2 separate regions of the Homo sapiens genome follow, and region 2 is linked to region 1. The links are contacts of gene promoters, found by promoter capture Hi-C in human tissues and cell types (Jung and others, 2019). All regions are on one chromosome and are shown on one strand. The core of a region is centred on a gene start or on the middle of the fragment in contact, and the rest is flanking DNA. Distances in the headings are between cores, read along the strand shown.

Evidence for each region. The method cuts DNA at HindIII sites, captures the fragments that hold promoters and counts their contacts. A contact is called where the count stands out against the background at its distance.
Region 2: a contact is called between a fragment that was not itself captured here and the fragment with the promoter of JPH1 in region 1, in 1 of the 25 tissues and cell types used here (dorsolateral prefrontal cortex).

The regions. Positions count from the first base shown.
Region 1 is chr8:74,317,737-74,324,431 of GRCh38, reverse strand. It overlaps JPH1 (junctophilin 1), which reads left to right and starts at 2,892. Exons shown (of 6, transcript NM_020647.4): 1 at 2,892-3,523. The coding sequence starts at 3,145. RefSeq lists a silencer at 2,742-2,841 and an enhancer at 2,935-3,825. The HindIII fragment of the contact is 7,240 bases long and covers 1-5,872 here.
Region 2 is chr8:74,160,706-74,167,934 of GRCh38, reverse strand. No RefSeq gene overlaps it. Among named protein-coding and RNA genes, the nearest start is that of JPH1, 160 kb to the left of the region's middle. The HindIII fragment of the contact is 5,655 bases long and covers 1-4,832 here.

The DNA.
Region 1 (6,695 bases), core at 1,643-4,142:
TAATATGTTGTTAACTGGTCATAGTCACACTCAAAATAGCTTACAATATGTTATAAAATTTTTTAGAATGGAAATATATAATAACTAGGTTTTTAACATGGAGGAAAACAAACTATAGGGTAGTTGCTGGCCCCTGGATTTTCATGGCCTCCCCCGTTCCACCTGTCAAACCAACATTCACATTCTCTTCTTACTAATCCCTTCTTAAAGCTAAATTCAACTCCCCCTTATCCAGGGCAAAGGTTCAGAGGGAGAGGGAAAATAAGGACATTACTAACCCTGACTATTAAACTGCAACATTATTCCACTGTCTACTATCTGCTATGCCATCACTCTCAGCATCTCTTCCTCTTCCTAGTATTCTCTCCCCGTCTTCTCCAACCGTTACCATTGACCCTGAACACTTACACTAACACATATGTCTTCGTGACTGGGTAAACATTCCATTGTGATGGCAGCTGGTAAATGGAAGCATGGTTTATATGGTTATTTGCCAAAAATTGTTTAGTAATTTACCAAAAATACCAACTTTCTTTCATAAAGAAAGTCAACATCAGAGCTAGGCTAGGATTAAGATTAGTTAAAATTTAATCATACATACCTAGTGGTAAAGTCTCACTTTTAATTAAGGTTCTTTGCAAGGCATCTATTAGGGATAGCCACAGGAAAAGAGTAAGCAATAAATGGCCATGTCTTTTTTCCTCCCCAAATCTTCATATTCAATCCAGATGTGTGTGCACCTCCCACCACAAATAGACTAGATATCCATTACAGAAGCCAGAAACTTGGTTTGTGCTCTGTGTTCCAGAAAATCCCTCATTTGCATGACAACTAATTAGGAAGAGTAATAAATAAAGAGATAAAGGTTTCCAAAATTTATCCCCTTAAAGAACATATATGGGTCCTAACACACTGGGTGGATCCAAAAAAAAAAAAAAGGCAAAGGGACAAAGACTACTCTATGAGGAAGTCTAGTTTAGAAAGAGACTCCCCCATTCAAAATATTGGCTTGAGCAACCACACTTTTTCTCATATCATACAGAACCTCAAAATATATGGGAATGCATCTTTCTACATTAGCTCCTGATTCTGGTGTATCCCATAACAGGGAAATGGAATTATGGCTCAGCCGCAAAGCCCTGGCCCTCATCTTCCCAGCGGCCTAAATCAATCCCCAGTCCAGGACAAGATGCTTCGAGAGATGCATAATTATTTCAGGCCACTAGGGTAAGCACTATTCCTGGCAACTCTGCGGGCAGTGCCATGGATGAGGGCTTCTAATTCTCTTTGGTGATTTGGTTCTGCATAAACTGAGATTTTTCTTTCAGTCTTTCAGCCAGATAAGTAGGAAAGGTCGGCTCTCGTCCTGAGAGAGAGGCAATCAAGGTCAATTTCAGTTCCTTTTCTGTGCAGTTTAGTCTACTTTTTCCCAGGCTGTCTTCCTGACACCTGTCCTTATATCTATATCTGATTATCAAATACTTAGTGAGAGAACCTTTGGCAGCTTCTGATGCTCGCATAGTCACCCAAAGGCCTCTCAGCCTAAGAAATAGCAGGAATACACTCCAAATCAGTTTCCTTGAGAGGCCAAACTAAGACCCTAGGCTGTGAAAGTGGGAGAAGTTTCTCCCGTGGGTATTTTGAGGGTGAGGTGGAGAATAATGCTTTCTCTCACCAGAGGCAATGCTGATCCAACTTGCCTATTACCAAATCTCTAATTTTTGGTTTGGCACTGCAGCCACAATATACTCAGTTATTACCGAATATAGAAAGAGAAAGGCAAATCTTGTTAGTCCCATTCAGAAGATGGTGAAATGGAGGTTTAAAAGTTTAGAAGAGTTGCCTAAAGTGAATTCGACAAAGCAGTGTTGTAGCTAGAAAGTAGACCAGCTGACATCTGTCCCTGGTTTTGTAGGTCACAGTTTCTTTGCAAGTTTAGAGCAGTGCTTTACTTACCATATTCCTCCTTGCAAACCTCTATTTACTTTCTTAAACAGTGGATACCAGTGGAGAGGTGTGCATTCCAGACACTTATACAATGTACACAGACCGAGCCGTCTACCTGTTGGGCACACAGCTCCAGGCTCAAGAATCTCTAAGGCTGTTAAGAAGCACAAACGAGGCACGAGAGGGGGCAGGCTCTAATGTAAAAGGAATATCCTGTACCACTGCAAAGGCCGATTGAAAACATCCTCTTCATCACTATTAATAAAAAACTAACCAATATATTCTGTGCTTTTTCAAACTGTACTGCTCACCCTCAGTGTCTTCATTAAATAAATGCAAACACGTGTGCTTTGAAACGGGTAGGTGTAAAAGAACACTCTGCACAATTATATCTAGGCTGCCGCAGATTTACATCACATGCATACATATATCTAGGCGATATTAATTCACGATGACAGCTGAGCATGACAAATGCAACAGTACACAAGTTGGAATGCGAAAACAATGCAACTACAAACCCCATGCAGACAAACACGCATACAATGAGTTTTCCCTCAACACACACGTGGCCGCACTCACAGGAGCTTAACCACTTTGAAAAACCCCAAACACAAACACCGGGGGCTCCGGCGCCCGCGAGCGGCCCCCACACAGGCAGCCGCGCCTTCATCTCCAGGCAGGGATTCTCGTGCGTCCCCGGGTACACTCGCCCTCCCACCGGCATCCCACTGCGCGAACACATGCGCGCCAGCCGGTCCCCGCGCGCGCCCGCCTGCCGAGGAAGCGGCGGCTCCCGGGGCTGGGGGCAGGGCCCGGTGGGGCGGGAGCGCCGCGGGGCCGGGCCTCGGCGCCCGGGGAGGGGACGAGGGGCGGGCGCGGGGCGGTGCCCGGCTCACGTGGGCGGGCGGGAGCAGCTGAAGGTCCGCTCGGGAACCTGGGCTGTCCTCTCGCGCGCGGCGCTGGCCCAGGCGGCGGCGGCGAAGGAGGAGGAGGAGGAGGAGGAAGGCGGCGGTGGCGGCGGCAAAAGAGGAGGGAGGACGGGGGCGGCGTCGGACTGGAGCCGAGCGGCAGCGCGAGCTGCCCAGGGCGCTGTCGTGAGCTCGCCCGCCGGGCCCCCACCCCCGAGCTACACCCTGCCGTGCCCAGCACTGCCCGCGTCCGTGCCCCTGCGGGGAGCGCGCCGGGGCTGCCCCCCGAATGACGGGCGGAAGGTTCGACTTCGACGATGGCGGCACCTACTGCGGCGGCTGGGAGGAGGGCAAGGCGCACGGGCATGGCATCTGCACGGGGCCCAAGGGCCAGGGCGAGTACTCGGGCTCCTGGTCGCACGGCTTCGAGGTGGTCGGAGGCTACACCTGGCCCAGCGGCAACACCTACCAGGGCTACTGGGCGCAGGGCAAGCGGCACGGGCTGGGGGTGGAGACGAAGGGCAAGTGGATGTACCGGGGGGAGTGGTCACATGGTTTCAAGGGGCGCTACGGGGTCCGGCAGAGCCTGTGCACCCCCGCTCGCTACGAGGGTACCTGGAGTAACGGGCTGCAAGACGGGTACGGCGTGGAGACCTACGGGGACGGAGGTGAGCGGCGTAACGGGCGGCTCGGCTGCTCCGCGAGCTGGTGCGGTGGGCTCTGCCCCGGCTGCGGGGAAGCGGGGAGGACGCCGGGCGCACGTGTCCGGAAACCCGCCAAAACACCTGGGGGCGCCTCCCACCCCCGCGCCCGCGCCCGCCTTTCCCAGAGAGGGCGCTGGGACCGGACTGGGGCGCGAGGGCTGGATCTGACCCCGTTCTTGGAGCGGGCCGTGTATCCACACTCAGGGGAGCTAGGCGTGAATGTACCTGGCCGGCGCCAGCGCTGCGCTGCCACCGGGAGGGAGCGCCGCCCGGGAGGGTTGGGCTGGAGAGAGGACGCTGTCACTTGAGCCCGTCACATTACGTTCCTGATCCCTCCCTCTCCCGGCCGGGTTTGAAATCGCCACTCCCGTGGAGTTAGAGCGAACACCCTGAGCGGGTGAGGTTGGCGGTCCGTGCTGACCGCTCCCGGGATTGGTTTCACGTGGAGTCGTATTTCGCTTCTGGTCCTCCAGTAGCCTAAAGATAGAAGCCAGAACCCCGTAACTAGGATGTTGGGGAATTGTACCTTATTTGGGGGTGCATTTGGAAACGTCCTAGTTATGGGAGCAGAAAGGCCACCTGATGCAGGTGGAGTTCAGAGTGTGTGAGTTCCTAGTTTTCATTCCGTTTCTTAAAGTATTGGTCTTAAAAGAGTAGCAGTCTTTGCTGACCTGGAGATCTTGGACAAATTACTAGGAAGATATTTTAGAAATGGGTAATGAAGTCTACATTTTAAAGAATACAATTAGCAGGTGTGTTCCTATAGCTGCTAAGTTAGCAGCTACTACTCCTGAGAATGGCAATACTGAAACAATAATTTGCATTATGTGTGACCTAAGCCAGTATTCCTGGCTGTGAACAAAGATCACCTTATTTTAATATTTAACAATATTTGCCAAAGAGATTGTGTATATACCAGGACAGAAGTTCCTCTTTTATTAGGAAAAGTATACATTATTGAAACAGGTGTCAAAACCTGATGAATTTCCTTGTGTAATACGCTGAGAAAGATATTCATGAATAGCTTATGCTTTAGCAAAGTGCATTTCCTGATAAACATAATCATATTTAGTTGAAAAGGGTTGTAGGAGGCGACATCACTTTTTGGAATTAAGCAGCTCAGAGTTGGAGGATATTAAAGGGATGCAATTAAAAGTTTCTCCAGCCCACTGCAACCCCATTTATACCATTGCTTATATAAAAGCTTACACAATTTGTACACTTCACTTAGTCAGAACACTTGGGCCGTGTTTCAAATGCAAAATGGCAGAATGGTAGAACTTGCTAAAAAGGACATCTTTTCATCCTACAGTATAAATTAAGCATATGGTTCTCATGGATTAAAAGAAAAAAACGTTCTCTAATAGTTTTATGTGGGGCTGAGTCCCGAGTTTCACAGTAGTTAATTGGGACCCTTAAATGTTCTGAATGGGCATAAAGTACCTGGTTGACAGCGCTGTAAATATGTCAGTTTGTGACTGGATTTTGTTGGAGGCCCCAGCTCTACTATATAACTAAATTCCATGCTCAAAAGTAGAAGGCAAAATTTATTGTTTTAAATGTGTGCATTATTTTATAATCTTTTAAGAAGGCCAGGGATGGTTCTCTTCAGTTTTGGAAGGTTAAAAATCGTCTCCTTTTAAAGATACTATTCATTAAACACACTCTCTTGGTTTAGAGTATTCATTATACCTAGTAATCAAAATATATATAGCACAGTAGAGGCTGTCTGTGTACATGTCGTAGAAACCCAAATAAGTCTCCAGAATGATTTTATGAATAATCTGCCTTCAGTTTTAAAATAAACTTAAAAAAAAACTTAAAACTTGGCATCATCCTGGGTGGTACTGTGGTTTTCTTCTTCTACCAAAAAAAAAAATCTAATATGCTACAGTTAGGAAGAAAAACCTTAAAAATCACTACTGAATGTCTACTCTATGCTAATAGATTTTCTACTGTCTCATATGTAACTATTTCATTAGAAAGTTCTCAATCATAAAAAGGGAGTCTAAAGCAAGTTTATTGCTGTAACTTATTTCATACAAAGGTTTTGGCCAAAATAGGAATATCACTAAAAAATTAGCTTGTTTTCTGCTGTTCTCACTAAGGAGTTAGCTTGTTTTTGTTTGCACTCTCCCCATCGCCACATGTCCATCCCTGTACACCCTGTATCAGATTCAGGGAAAATCTGATTCCGAGTTTTTTTGTGGTGACATTAAACTGGAGGAGGAAGGAAGCAGTAATTCCATGTGAGACGTATCACTTATTTTATTAGTGATTTGTGTATTACATGTTGCTGAAATAGAAACCCCCTGAATATTAACAATAAGTTAGTATCATACTCATGAAATCCAAGTCTAGGTGCCCAGAATTTTTTGTGCTAATTCTGATCTGTACTTTGTTTTTTCACTTGTCATAAAACTATTGAAAATATCTGGGAAAACACAACGTTTTGTTAACTAGATGCATACTTGCACATACCCATTCGGAGCATATAAACTGAAGTTTGGCATAGTGCAGTGCAAATTTGACTGAAACTCCTAAACTGGATGCCTTCCACTACAAGATTGTGTAGTTAAAATGACTAAATCTAAAAAATTAGCTCCCAAATGAACACAGTTTAAAACTGGTAAAAGTAATTTTTATACTTGTGAAATATGCATCTACATTTTAGGAATCAAGAGGAACTAATTAGAACTTTATTTGAGCAGCAGGGAGAAGTTGGAACCCACCTGCTTCATAAAGAAATAGGCCCTTTCTTATTCTAGGTTCATTGACTAAACTAAACCTATTTTAAATTTCAGATGAACTGCTAACAGTTTGACTGCAAATTGGTTTCTAGCAATTCTGTGGAGGAATTCTTTCATATACTGTGATTTAACAAAATAGGAGAGGAATGTGGCCAATGCTCTTGTCCCCCCCTTCCCTATTTGACAGTTAAGCAGAGACTTAAACTTTCTAATTATTGCTGTTGCCTTAAACAGCTTGGATTTTCAAGCCATACTTTTTTGGAAATTCTAAATACTGTACTAGTCTTATTTTTGGAGATAACAGTTTAAAGAAACTAGCTGTTAATTTTCCATCAGTGTTAAACATTTACCAAGATGGTATGGCTGTGTTTTAAAAGTGCAGATAC
Region 2 (7,229 bases), core at 756-3,255, 160 kb after region 1:
ATCCCTAGATACCTCTATGGCTCATCCTAGAAGAAAGGAGGGTGATGGGTGTACATAATTGACAACACCTGGCATTGGGTTTAGAGAAACCCCTTCCTTGCAAACTAAGACTCAGGAAAGCAGGGTGAGCATATGTCCCATTTCTCTGGGACAGTTGTGATCTAGGGTATTGTCTGGTATAATGAGGCAAAGTGCCCTCTTTCACTTCCAAAAGCATCCCGACTTGCACAATAATCATGTACTCACCTTCCATACAGGAATTTGTATTTCACAATTTGCTAAAGCAAAATGCTTCTCCTACCTTCTTTTACCCTCCAAAACATAACTGCAACACCAATTTTGATCAAACAGGTGTGTTACAACATACCAATGTCAGGAATCCACAAAAGCAGAGGCCAGACTGAGCCAACTCATGGGAAATTCGCACTTTCTCAAGATTTTCAAGTTAGTGAACAAAACAGTAAATCATGTTTTCTTCCGCAGGTGCATTGTAATTATGGCTCCCTAGAACTTTCCCAAAGCAAGTGTCATTACTAAGAGACTGCAAGAAAATATCTTACTGCTGGAGTTCTTTGTTGCTATAATAATGAGACTAGATCTGGAGCAAAAGATGCAACTTCACTTTTTCAAAATCACACATACTCAAGGTATAATCCAAGATGGCACCTTAAATTTTTACATGCTAAAATAAACAAAAAAACCACTAAGTGTCATTGTCCCTAGCATTACCACTACAAGAAGAATTCGCTAACCAAAGGTGTTGAATTACTTTCAGACATGGTAGCTTGTCCTTGGATGTTTTAAAATCAGCTCATGAGCTTATAGTTTCCTAAGCAGCCTTTCTGTCTTCTAATTGCCTTTAAAAGGACAAACGGTAAAAGCTGGAAGTCTTTCCAAGCCCCTGGGCTTCACCCCAGGACAACACACCACATACTTTCCTGCATCAGCATATCAGGTTGCCTGTGAGCAAGAGAGCCCTGCCTGCCATGAGTTCTTTAAGGATCCATTACTGTGTTTTCCAGGCACCTATGGGACTTCTCCCTCCAATTTCTCACTTACTGGCTTCAAAGACGACTCTCAATGTCATCGAGATTAAACCAGCTCTTAGGGAGGCAACATAATGCCGTAATTAAGAGCAGAGCATCAGAGCACAAGACTGGCATCCAAATCCCAATTCTGCCACTTACAAGCCATGTGACTTCGGTCAAGGTACTTACCTCCTCATCTGTAAAATGGGGATGACGGTGCATAACTCATAGAGTTTGTGTGGGGACTCGAGGATATAAAGTAGGAAAACCACACAATGCAATGCCTGGCACATAGTGTGTGCTCAAAAAATATTTTTTATCTCTTCTTAGAAATTGAACATGGCTTAAAATTTTAGTTTACTTGAAATCATCAGGGTAAGGGAGAGGGTGTTTTTCATAGAAAAAACATAGAATTTGGAACCAGAAAACCTAAATTCAAGTTCTGTTTTTCCCACCTACTGGCTTTCATGGCTTTGGATTAATTTCTTTGAACCTCAGTTCTCTTCCCCTATCCGGTAAAAAGATGATAAATATATTCCAGGTTGTTGAGAAGGCCCAATAAAATAACACAAGGAAAAGTGTTTTGTAAACTGAGCGAATGTTAATTATTAATCAAAATGGGACTAAGAACACATCACCTGCACAAATGAAAGGGCTAACAGGTAACTAAAATGCCCAGTTTCTTTTCTGGAGCACCACTTACTCAGGTCTCAGGACCAGGCTGGATGGCTATGGCGGGCCCCTCGCGTGTCCTGGGCCACCCTCGCTCCACTGCTCCGTCTTCCCACTCTGTTTCCTATTCTGGCAGCTTCCGTGCTGTGAACAAGGAGACTGCACCATGGGAGGTCTCTTCTGGCAACATGCAATATTCTGCTAACTCCCCTAAAAGGAAAACAGCGAGGAGAAGGGAAGGCTGGTGTATCATGCGTTTCTGTGCCCATAAACTCAAGTAAAAGGCAATATATTAAACTATAGGTAATCATCCTCCAAGAAAGCTTTGGCCATGTAAAGGAATAAGGCTAGAATGGGGCTCCTGTAGCTCACTGAGGAGTTGCTAGCCACGTGTTGTCATGTATATTTTGGGAGAGTGAAGACATTATTCAAGAGAAAAATGTGGAGGAGGAGGACAATTGTGACTATCCTTACGTGGAGCCTAAAAGCAGGGCCTAGGTAAGATGTCACATCTACGGTAATAAGCAAGCTATGACACATAAAAAGAAAAGTCATGCCAATGAAATGTTTAAAGCCAAATGCTTTTACATTTGTATTTAGAATTTACAAAGTCTTCTCGTGTTACTTATAGAAGCCTCAAGTAAAAGTATTTTCCTTCTTCTAAGCAACATCAGGTGCTTGTAGAGACTCACTCTTACATTTTTATATAAAAAAATACCAGGACATTTCTTAAACAGGAATCCAAAGCACAGAGAGATTAAGGCTGTGACAGGACCGTTAATGTGGCACTCACCAGAAGCATTCTAAGTTCTTCTCTGTGTCAAAGACAAATGAATACATAAATCTCTGTTTATTTCATAAAGAACTGTGTCAATTTCAGTTTACCTGCATTCTCCAGATAACTGGTATCATGGGATATGTTGATTCTCACCACTACCTCCTCTGAATCACCTTAAGAATAGCTAAAATATCCACCAATAACCTTACCAAGGGTTTTGGAAAATAAACATTATAAAAGTTTAGTAATAACAATTAGAAAAGCCACAGGAATTCTCAAATTTTCACAGGAAGTCCCAAATTCCCCAGGTTTCCCATTCATGTCTGTCCTCTACCTCATGCACAAGGCAGAAGAATTAATGCATCTTCTTGGGGCATCTTCTTCAGGATCTTGCTCTGTCACCCAGACTGGAATGCAGTAGTGTGTATCATGGCTCACTGCAGCCTCAACCTCCCAGGCTCAAGTGATCCTCCCACCTCAGTCTCCTACTAGCCAGGACTATAGACACACACCATCATGCTTGCATAATATATTTTACGTAAAGACAGGGTCCCCCTTTATTGGCCAGGCTGATCTCAAACTCCTGGCTTCAAGTGATCCTCCTGCCTCCACCTTCCAAAGTGCTGGGATTACAGGCATGAGCCACTGCATCCAGCTTATTTTTTAATGTCTCGTCTTCCACTGTATAATTGGTTGTCTTATTTTAAAATCTTCTACTTGTACCTCTACAGTTTCCAATAATTGGAAAGGAAGAACAAATGTAATATTTTCTTGTAGCAAAGCAATAGTTTTGGACCATTGCACCTTCTTCCTGTCTATTGCCATAACTTTCCATGGAATGCTCAGAGGGTCCCTGCAGGATCTCCTTAGGGCCTCTACTCCTCCCCTACTTACCAGCCCACACTGGACATCAAAAAGCCTCTCTGCCCTGTTAGCCTCCCAATGTGTGTTTCTGTCTTGTGTATTTCTGTGTTGGTAAAAGGAAAACTTTAGACAAAGTTTAATTGAGCAAAAAACAATTTGTAAATAGAGCAACACCCAGAACCAGAATAGGGCCAGAGCGACCTGGGGGCTATCTCGTGGTTGGATCACATTTATGGTCAGAAAAAGGAAAATGACATACAGAAAACAGAAGTAAGGTGCAGAAACAGCCAGACTGGCTACAGCTTGGAGTTTACCTTATTTGAACACGGCTTGAACAGTCTACTGCCTGTGATTGGTCTAAACTTGTCTGCTGTGATTAGCTCTTGTTACAAGAGTAGGTTGCTTGCACTTCTGTTTGCACATTGGGTTACAGTTCACTATGTATGGAGAAACCTCTTCAAACTTAAAATATGTAAGGAAGTGGCTTTAGGCTAAACTTAATTTAGCAGTGTTATAGTCTCATTATGATGGTAATCAGATTCCTACTGTTCTACTGCAGTTACCATATACAATACAAAACAACCTGGAGTTAGTGAAGGTTGCCATGTGTTCCCACTCCTCATCTCCTTATGTTTCTAGAGAGAAGAATATCAACTAGACTAACACAGCTGGTCACTTGTCCCACTCCTCAGTCCCCTTCCCATCCCCTGAAGAAGTGAATTGTCTGACGGACGAGCTCGGAAAAATGATCTGGGCATGCTCCTCTCAGCCCCTGGTTGGTTTCTCTGACAGCCAGCCTGGCTGCAGAGAGGTATGTTCCGGGCACTTTCCTAGGAGATGAGGGGTGTGTCCATGCAAGGAAGCCAGCTATCGCCCTCCTGTTCCACGTCTGGTGAAAATGCCTGTCTAAAGCAAGGGTGGCTCTTAGCATTAACCTTTCTCTTGCTTCCATCCTTCAGTTTTGAACTTAGGCAGGAAAAACAGAGGAGTTTATAATAAATTATAATCCCTTAAAACTCTAATACCAGAAATTTTATTTGCCCCTTCATACCATTATTTTCTCCATCTAAGCCAATGGGGCAGAACTTCTCTCAAATAGAAATTGCCATTTGTGTCACGTGGCTGTCTTGTCTCACATCGCACCCTTTATGATTCCTGCCTCTTCCCATTAAATGGAAGGAAATGAGCTGAAGAGTCCTCATTTGAATGTTCAATTTGGGAATTAGTAAATCTGTACAAAGATAAAGTTAATCCTACTGACTCTCATTGAGCACACAATTGGTGTTGTTTTTCCATTAATGGGATTGGAGTCATACTGAACCGTCCTACCCTCTCACTTTGGCTCCTAATGGTAAGCAGAGAGCCAGCCTTAACAGTGCAATGTAAGCAGTGGGAAAGAATGACACTAACACACGTGGAGTGGGGTGGGTGCACCCACCATCTTGCTGTCTTGAGCTCAGTGCCATAACAGTATGAGCAAATCATTTCAGGCAAAATAGTGAGTAAAAGGGATTGCTATCAACCAGGACGTAGAAATGATGAAGTACGTGAGCTCCGGAGCTGGCTGCTTTTGTTCAAATCCCGGCTCTCCACTTTGTGATTGCTAGGCTTCAGTCTTATTATTTTACCACTCTAACTCAATTTCTCATCTGTGAAATGAAGATAATAACAGTATCTAATTCACAGGTTTGATATAGAGCATAGAATTAAATCAATTAATACTTGTAAAGCATTAGAAAGTGCCAAGTGTCTACTAAACATTCAGTAGGATGTTGGCTGTCATTATTTGTGTTTGAATGTAATGGTACATACAAATATAGCAACAGGTAAGATTTCATGTAGTCATCGATGATAACAAAGAGCAAAATATTTGGTGTCTCCTAACAGCCTAATGTGGCTCTGTCCATAACAGAGCACTTTTTGAGATTAGCTATGCATTCAGCCTGCTTTTTTTTTTTTTTCATATACTTTAAGTTCTAGGATACATGTGCAGAACATGCAAGTTTGTTGCATAGGTAGACATGTGCCATGGTGGTTTGCTGCACCCAACAACCCATCATCTACATTAAGTATTTCTCCTAACCCTATCCCTCCCGCAGCCCCCCACCACCTGACAGAACCCAGTGTGTGAGTTCCCCTCCCAGCGTCCATGTGTTCTCATTGTTGAACTCCCACTTATGAATAAGAACATGCAGTGTGTGGTTTTTTGTTCCTGTGTTAGTTTGCTGAGAATGATGGTTTCCAGCTTCATCCATGTCACTGCAAAGGACATGAACTCATCCTTTTTTATGGCTGCATAGTATTCTATGGTGTATATGTGCCACATTTTCTTTATCCAGTCTATCATTGATGGACATTTGGGCTGGTTCCAAGCCATTGCTATTGTGAATAGTGCTGCAATAAACATACATGTGCATGTGTCTTTATAGTAGAATGATTTATAATCCTTTGGGTATATACTCAGTAATGGGATTGCTGGGTCAAATGGTATTTCTGGTTCTAAATCCTTGAAGAATCACCACACTGTCTTCCACAATGGTTGAACTAATTTACACTCCCACCAACAGTGTAAAAGCATTCCTATTTCTCCACATCCTCTCCAGCATCTGTTGCTTCCTGACTTTTTAATGATCGCCATTTTAACTGGCATGAGATGGTATCTCATTGTGGTTTTGATTTGCATTTCTCTAATGCCCAGTGATGATGAGCTATTTTTCTTATGTTTGTTGGCCACATAAATGTCTTCTTTTGAGAAGTGTCTGTTCATATCCTTTGCCCACTTTTTGATGGGTTTGTTTGTGTTTTTCCTGTAAATTTGTTTAAGTTCCTTGTAGATTCTGGATATTAGCCCTTTGTCAGATGAATAGACTGCAAAAATTTTCTCCCATTCTGTAAGTTGCCTGTTTCCTCTGATGATCGTTTCTTTTGCTGTGCAGAAGCTCTTTAGTTTAATTAATCCCATTTGTCAATTTTGACTTTTGTTGCAATTCCTTTTGCTGTTTTAGTCATGAAGTCTTTGTCCATGCCTATTTCCTGAATGGTGTTGCCTAGGTTTTCCTGTAGGGTTTTTATGGTTTTTAGGTCTAACATTTAAGTCTTTAATCCATCTTGAATTAATTTTTGTATAAGGTGTAGGGAAGTTTCAGCTTTATACATACGGCTAGCCAGTTTTCCCAGCACCATTTATTAAATAGGGAGTCCTTTCCCTACTGCTTGTTTTTGTCAGCTTTGTCAAAGATCAGATGGTTGTAGATGTGTGGTGTTATTTCTGAGACCTCTGTTCTGCTCCATTGGTCTATGTATCTGTTTTGGTACCAGTACCATGCTGTTTTGGTTACTGTAGCCTTGTAGTATAGTTTGAAGTCAGGCAGCGTGATGCCTCCAGCTTTGTTCTTTCTGCTTAGGATTGTCTTGGCTATCCAGGCTCTTTTTTGGTTCCATATGAGATGTAAAGTAATTTTTTCTAATTCTGTGAAGAAAGTCAGTGGTAGCTTGATGGAGATAGCATTGAATCTATTTGGGCAGTATGGCCATTTCACGATATTGATTCTTCCTATCCATGAGCATGGAATGTTTTTCCATTTGTTTGTGTCCTCTCTTATTTTCTTGGGCGGTGGTTTGTAGTTCTCCTTGAAGAGGTCCTTCACATCCCTTGTAAGTTGGATTCCTAGGTATTTTATTCTCTTTGAAGCAATTGTGAATGGGAGTTCACTCATGATTTGGCTCTCTGTCTATTATTGGTGTATAGGAATGCTTGTAATTTTTGCTCATTGATTTTGTATCCTGAGACTTTGCTGAAGTTGCTTATCAGCTTAAGGAGATTTTGGGCTGAGATGTTGGGGTTTTCTAAATATACAATCTTGTCATCTGCAAACAGAGACAATTTG